Regions from separate parts of the Homo sapiens genome. Here region 2 is linked to region 1. The links are contacts of gene promoters, found by promoter capture Hi-C in blood cells and fetal thymus (Javierre and others, 2016). All regions are on one chromosome and are shown on one strand. The core of a region is centred on a gene start or on the middle of the fragment in contact, and the rest is flanking DNA. Distances in the headings are between cores, read along the strand shown.

What was found. The method cuts DNA at HindIII sites, captures the fragments that hold promoters and counts their contacts. A CHiCAGO score of 5 or more calls a contact.
Region 2: a contact is called between a fragment that was not itself captured here and the fragment with the promoter of UCN3 in region 1, in 2 of 17 cell types (M0 macrophages and endothelial precursors). The highest score is 5.2, in M0 macrophages.

The regions. Positions count from the first base shown.
Region 1 is chr10:5,363,024-5,366,476 of GRCh38, reverse strand. UCN3 (urocortin 3) reads right to left here and starts at 1,511. Exons shown (of 2, transcript NM_053049.4): 1 at 1,247-1,511. The HindIII fragment of the contact is 8,098 bases long and covers 1,244-3,453 here.
Region 2 is chr10:5,134,093-5,137,545 of GRCh38, reverse strand. It overlaps a transcript of AKR1C8 not described here. Among named protein-coding and RNA genes, the nearest start is that of AKR1C3, 41 kb to the right of the region's middle. The HindIII fragment of the contact is 3,166 bases long and covers 158-3,323 here.

The sequences.
Region 1 (3,453 bases), core at 262-2,761:
TCCTTTTACATTCCTTGGACTCTTCTGCCATATTCTTGGTGAAACAGCACAAAAGTTTAAGATTTCTCTGCAGTCTGCCACGAAAATAACTGGGCACCATCTAGTTATTAATACATTTGAGGGGCAAAGCTCTACACCTGTATTTTTCTCTGGGTGCCTGAAACTCAACCATTCCTTTGGGCTATGGTGACAGTAGCACTTGTCGAGGATGCTGTAAAGAGACACAGTTACTTCTGGGAGCTGTGGCAGAGCCAAGCACTGAAACGTGAGGGACCTGGGTCAGCCTCCAATTCCCAGCACCTCACAGGGAGAGGACAGGACATGAAGCAGCAAAGGCAGGAGGCAAACAGTACTGATCACACATCTCTGCCAAGTGCAGAGCTATTCCTGTGGGCTCCGTTTGTCTGCAAACACTGATAAGAAGTTAAACTGAAACTAGACCACTTAAAACGTTTTAAAAATCTCACATTTGTTATTTTTGGTAGGTGGCTATGCTTGGGAAAGAAATTGCGAACAGGAATTTTCAGAAAACATAAACATCAAACATCCATCTCCCCTTCACAGGTAGGAGTTAGCCATTGTAGGTATCTGCACACACCCCCGCAATGTTCCTAGTGTGGCAAAGGGCTCTGGGCTTTGGTGGCAGAGGACCTGGCTGGGGAAACTCCCTTGCCTCTGACTTTTCTTGGGTGAATCCCTTAACCTGCATTTCACTTGCCGCGTCCTAGGAAGGAGACGTTACCTGCTTCACAGGTGTGCCCGAGAGTGACGGGAGATGGCACAGGTGAAGGTTTGTGGCACAGGTAAACAGTAAGTGCAGGTGTCCTCGCTGCTTTGCAGGCGGCGTGGAGTCATGTCCTGTGGCTCCCATTAGCCCCGGCATCCCTACCCCATCCCCATTTGTAAACTGTCTCCGAGGACTGACTTTCCTGTGCACAGCTGTGCTCTGTTCAGAGAAAACAGATTTGTGTGAACACCTTCTGCCTCTGATCTAACACCTTTGGAAAGAGGGTCTCTCTATACCAACGTGGGAATGTGATTGTGCCTCCCTGAGAAACTTCCCCTGGTCCCTTTGGGGCTGATTTCTGCTGATTGGGTGGGGGGCGTTCAGCATCGCTCCCTTGGGCTTCCACCCAGGGGCGCTAGCAGCTCTCATCTCTCACACCTGTCTAGTGCATGGCACCTCCTGCTTAAATTAGGGCAGATACATTTACCCTTCATAAGTCAGTCCCAGCCACAAGCTTACCCGAGAGTGGACTTCCCTCCGCAGCGAAACGCTCAGGGAGGCCGGCGCAGCTTCAGGGCCAGGAGGGCGGCCCCGTGCACGTCCCCATGAACTTGTGGCTGCTCCGGGGTCTCGGCTCCTGCTTCTCCGGTATTGTTCCTAAGTGGGCTGTGATATTCCCTCTCTATGGAAACGGTCCCCTCCCCTGTGTGTATATAAAAGTGACAGATCACAGGGTGGATCGTAATTCCAGACGTGGTGTCTACGCTGGGATGAGATTTCATTTAAAATACAACCAGAACCAGCCGTCCACGTCATGCAGACGACAGGTGCTCCAACCTCGACCCCTCCCACCTCTGCTTCCCACCCCGCCCTTCTACCCCCCAACTCCTTTTGCATCCTAGCAACTTGCTTCATTGATAAAAGCAAAGAACAAAAAAGAAAAAGAAGAAATAAAAACTCAAAACAAAACAAAACAAAAATCCTGGTAAAGTGAGAAGCAGTGTCTTTGAAGAATTTTATTGCTGATCTTAGTTCTAACTAATTTCAGTTTCCCCCACATTCCCCTTGCCCTAACTCTCCTTCTGTAAATGTAGAGCCTGGACCTGCTTTGAAAGCAGAGAAGGGGTTTAAAATCCACCTGTTGCCGTGTTGTTTTGTGGGTTCTGACCGTGCAGCGTCATCTGGCCGCACACGTAGCCCCTTGTGCTTGTCACACACTCGGTGCCTACTCCCCACATAAAGTCTAATTATGCAAGTTTCTCCTTTCACATTCCTTGGGCTCTTCTGCCGTACCCTCAGTGAAACAACACGAAAGTTTAAGATTTCTCTGCAGCCTGCCGCGAAAATGACTGAGCACCATCTATTTGTTAATACGTTTGAGGGGAAAGCTCTACACCTGCATTTTTCTCTGGATACCTGAAACTCAACCATTCCTTTGGGCTATGACAGCAGGTCATCATACACCAGAGGTCTGGAGGTTTTAGTGGGAAATGGCTTGGATTTTACTCGTTTATGCATCCTATATTTATTGAGGACTTACTGTGTACCAGGTATTGCCAAGACACCCACGAGTTCAGAGATAAGTAAGTTGTGGCCCCTAACCATACAGGGCCTCATGGTTTAGAAAGGTAGGGAAGGCTGGGTGCGGTGGCTTATGCCAGTAATCCCAGCACTGTGGGAGGCCGAGGCGGGCAGATCACGAGGTCAGGAGTTCAAGACTAGCCTGGCCAACATGGTGAAACCCCGGCTCTACTAAGAATACAAAAAAAATTAGCCGGGCATGGTGGCGAGTGCCTGTAATTCCAACTACTCAGGAGGCCAAGGCAAGAGAATCACTTGAACCTGGGAGGTGGGGGTTGCAGTGAGCTGAGATGGCGCCATTGCACTCCAGCCTGGGCAACAGAGTGAGACTCCATCTCAAAAGAAAGAAAGAAAGAAAGGTAGGTAAAAAATGCTACAGAAGAGAGCAGTCCTGTCTACTCAAGACAGGAGAGGAGAGCAGGAGGGGTTTCAGACAGAAAGGATGGATCAGCATGGACTGAGCCAGGGCTGAGAGGAACGGGAGAGAAGGAGGACGATGGGAGGGAGGTGTTGGTGGGTGCAGAGGCTGCTCTGCACTAAGGTGCTCCAAAGGCCTGCGGAGTTGGGAGTTTATTCCATATGTAATGGGGAGATGTGGGAGACTACGGTCTGTTGACCCCTTATTCACAGATGAGGAAGCTGAGGCTGTAAAAAGTGACCTGCTGGGACCCCACAGGCCCAGGGTGACAGAGTCAGGTGAGAACCAGGCCTGACGCTGGGCTCAGTGCTCCTTTCACTGGGCTGAGCTGATGACAAGGGGCCCTGCAAGACCGGCTGGCTGTCCCTAGCCCTCCTCCCAGACGGCTGCTCCACTCTCGTGAATTCCTGCAGGTGAAGAGGTAAGAGGTCTTCTGAAATTACCAAAACTCTTTAAAGCCCATGAGCATTTGGAGGAACAAATGGAAAGCTGTTGTGGGGAAGGACTTCAAGACTCTGTACTCCCCATTTTAAGTCTCTTTATGGAGATAGGAAATTGGACCTCCCTCTCTTCCTTCTTTCAGAGCTGCCTGGGCTAGGATCCTCTTGAGATTGGAGGCAACATGAAACTGAATCTGTGTTTCAATTCAAATTCATTACTTCATTCATTCATTCATTAGTTCATTCATTCATTCATTCATTAGTTCATTCCTTCATTAGTTCCTTCA
Region 2 (3,453 bases), core at 491-2,990, 230 kb after region 1:
TGAATTTTGTCGAAGGCCTTTTCTCCATCTATTGAGATAATCATGTGATTTTTGTTGTTGGTCCTGTTTATGTGATAGATTACGTTTATTGATTTGTGTATGTTGAACCAGTCTTGCATCCCAGGGATGAAGCTAACTTGATCTTGGTGGATAAGCTTTTTGATGTGCTGCTGGATTCGGTTTGCCAGTATTTTATTGAGGATTTTTGCCTTGATGCTCATCAGGGATATTGGTCTAAAATTCTCTTTTTTGTTGTGTCTCTGCCAGGCTTTGGTATCAGGATGATGCTGGCCTCTGTCTTCTGCATCAATCACGCTGGGAGCTGCAGATGGGAGCTGTTCATATTCAGCCATCTTGGAATGGACTCCCAGTGAGGGAATAGTTTCTAGCAGCCAAAAGATTACATCCTGCTGAAGGTTCAGAAAATTGTTAGCATTTTGTAACAAAAAATGTTTAAATTAAGATATGTATATTGTTTCCTTAGACAGATACTATTGCTTACCTAATATAAAATAGTGTAAACATAATTTTTACATACAGTTGAAATTTAAAAATTTATGTGATTCATTTTATTGTGGTATTTGCTTTATGTTGGTGGTCTGGAATGTGACTTTTAATAGCTATAAAATATGCCTGTGTTTTATATCTTGTTTATCTCTTGTCAGAATTTTTGACTAAATGTTATTTCGTCTGATTCTAGTACAGCTATCACACCTTTTCTTTGGTTACTATTTTCTTAAAATACTTATTGTTGTCCTTCATGTTCACACTATTTATGTCCTCCTCTAAAGGAAGTTTCTGATTCAGAACATATAGTTGCATCCTGGATTTTTTAAAACCCATTCTGCAAATTGTCCTTTTGATGTGGAAATTTAAGCCATTTACATTTAATGTACACTTATGAAACACATAGCAAAGCACATTAAGATATCATTTTACACAAGTGAGAATGACTATTCTTAAAATGTCAAAAAACAACAGATATTGGTGTGGATTCATCAGGGATGTTAATCATGGATCATGCAAACTGGAATACAGTGGTATGACCTTGGCTCACTGTAGCCTCTGCCTCCCAGGTTGAACTTATCTCCTGCCTCAGCCTCTTGAGTAGCTGGAATTATAGGCATTTGCCACCACACGTGGCTAATTTTTGTATTTTTGGTAGAGACGAGGTTTCGTCATATTCGCCAGGCTGGTCTTGAACACTGGATCTCAAGTGATCCACCTACCTCAGCCTCCCAAAGTGCTGGGATTACGGGTGTGAGCCAACGTGTCTGGCCCAATCATTACATTCAAATTTGCCCTCCAAAGAGAGACACAAGTAAAAATTAAGGCATGTGAGGATTATTCACCAATTTATTGTAATTAGATTCCAGTTTTATGAATAACATTTAACAGGATCACAAATTATGTAAAATAGTTACCAGTTTTTTGGAACATTACCTTTGATAGTTTCTTATAAAACTATGTGAAAGATACAAATACTATAAGGCACTGTTTCCATATTACAAATGATGTCCAAAGACCAGACATTGTTAATTAATACTCCAATAAACATCATGTCATAATTTCTGCATTTTCTTTTTCCTTTGAACCCTTGTCAGGATTACAACATCATCAGGACTGCATTTTCATCAGGAATGAATATTCCTTCTACAATGCAAAGAAAAAAAACCCAAAATATTTGCTGATGGAAAGGTAAAAGGAGAAATTTTCTTTGGTTTTAATGTTTAACTTTTTTATTGTCACCTGTTAAAAAATGCTTACTAGTCATTCCTTTAGCATCATGTGAGAGAAAGATGTACAATGATTGATCATTTATATGACATAAAATAAAGATGAAACATCATCACGGCATGAACAAAAACGAGACTTGTTGCTGGAGTTGTTTTATAGTCCAACATATGATAATTAATCATTCTATAAATCTATTGGAGGAATTTATGAGATAGACAGATGATAGATGATAGATAGATAGATGATAGATGATAGATAGATAGATAATAGATAGCCAGATAGATAGATAGATAGATAGATTCCAGATGGAAAATTTTACTTTAGTAAGAAAATAATAATTTTATTCTGACTATATTAAAATGTACTTAAGAATTCTCTTTGATAAAAAACAAGTGCACTGGATTCAATTTTCTTCATAGCCTGTGTAATACACCATCACTTGCCTCTTCCTACATGACATTGGTCAGCCCCAGACAGTGGGCAGTGTAGCATTGCCTGCCCATTGTTTATACAACCTGTGAATATAAATGCTGGATGTTGAAGAAGGAAACCGTGTCTGCTTAGCGAAAGGAATGACATTCAATGGATCCCAAATATCAGTGTGTGGAGCTAAATGATGGTCATTTCATGCCTGTATTAGGATTTGGCACCTGTGTACCTCCAGAGGTAACATAATCATATTTTCAGTGTTGGGCATTTAAAAGAGCAAAGCTAGAATAAGTAGATGACTTGGGTTTTAGCTTTGTGTTCCTGTGTTACTCTGCGTGACTCACCTGGTCTGTTTTAATAGGCCAGAGCTATTCCATGTTCAAAGAGAAAAGGTAGTCAATCTTTGTTCTGCATTGGGGTCTGGTCATATGGTCGTGTACTGCTTACTTTTATTTTGTGCACTGTTTTTTTCTTCTGTTTATGGGTGTTCCCAGCTTTGCAGAATATTTAAAACTCAAGAGTGAAGAACGCTGCCTGGCATTTCCTTTTGTAGGTGATTGACTGCAGTGGAATGGTTTCTCCGTTTCTTTCTATAATTGAAGAAATTGTTTGTTCTTCCAAGTATACATGATCGAACAAAATCTTTGTGGTAACAGTGTCTGGAGACGGGGTGTATGAAAACTCTTAGGGAGAGTATTGCTGAGCTGCTGTGTGGCCTTGAGCATGACAGAGTAATAATACTGGTCTTGGACTTAATACAAGTTCCCATGTACAACTTTCACCTCTAGGAAAATTAAAAGGAAAAATAACTTTAAGAAAAAACTAGAACCTCGAAGGAGAAATTTTAGATTTTTGGTCCATGTTAATATGCATCAGATTTGTATCAAAATGGTATGGATGGTCCCCTGACATGAAAGTAGGCAAAATGGAGACTTTATTTTCTAGACTGAACTATTTCTATACTGGAAGAAAACGTGTATTCCAAGGCTACTAAGTGCTTGAATAAGGACTAGTCATATAAAATTTGTCTCACTTTTCTCAACTGTACATTGTAAGAATTTACAGAGAGACATCTTGAAGACCATCAACACTAGCGGTTTACTTTGTAATGAAAATTGGCATGAGGGGGAAGTAAGGAAAAGCACAACATGGAAGCTTTAGCCTTGGTAAACCTTGAGTGCCTCCACAGCAAAGAGAAGATCAGGGCTGGTATCAGGGGAAGGCAGTGAGACCTGGCATCTAGTTCCTTTTAATATCATTGAAAATAGAAAGCTTCTGAAATACTCA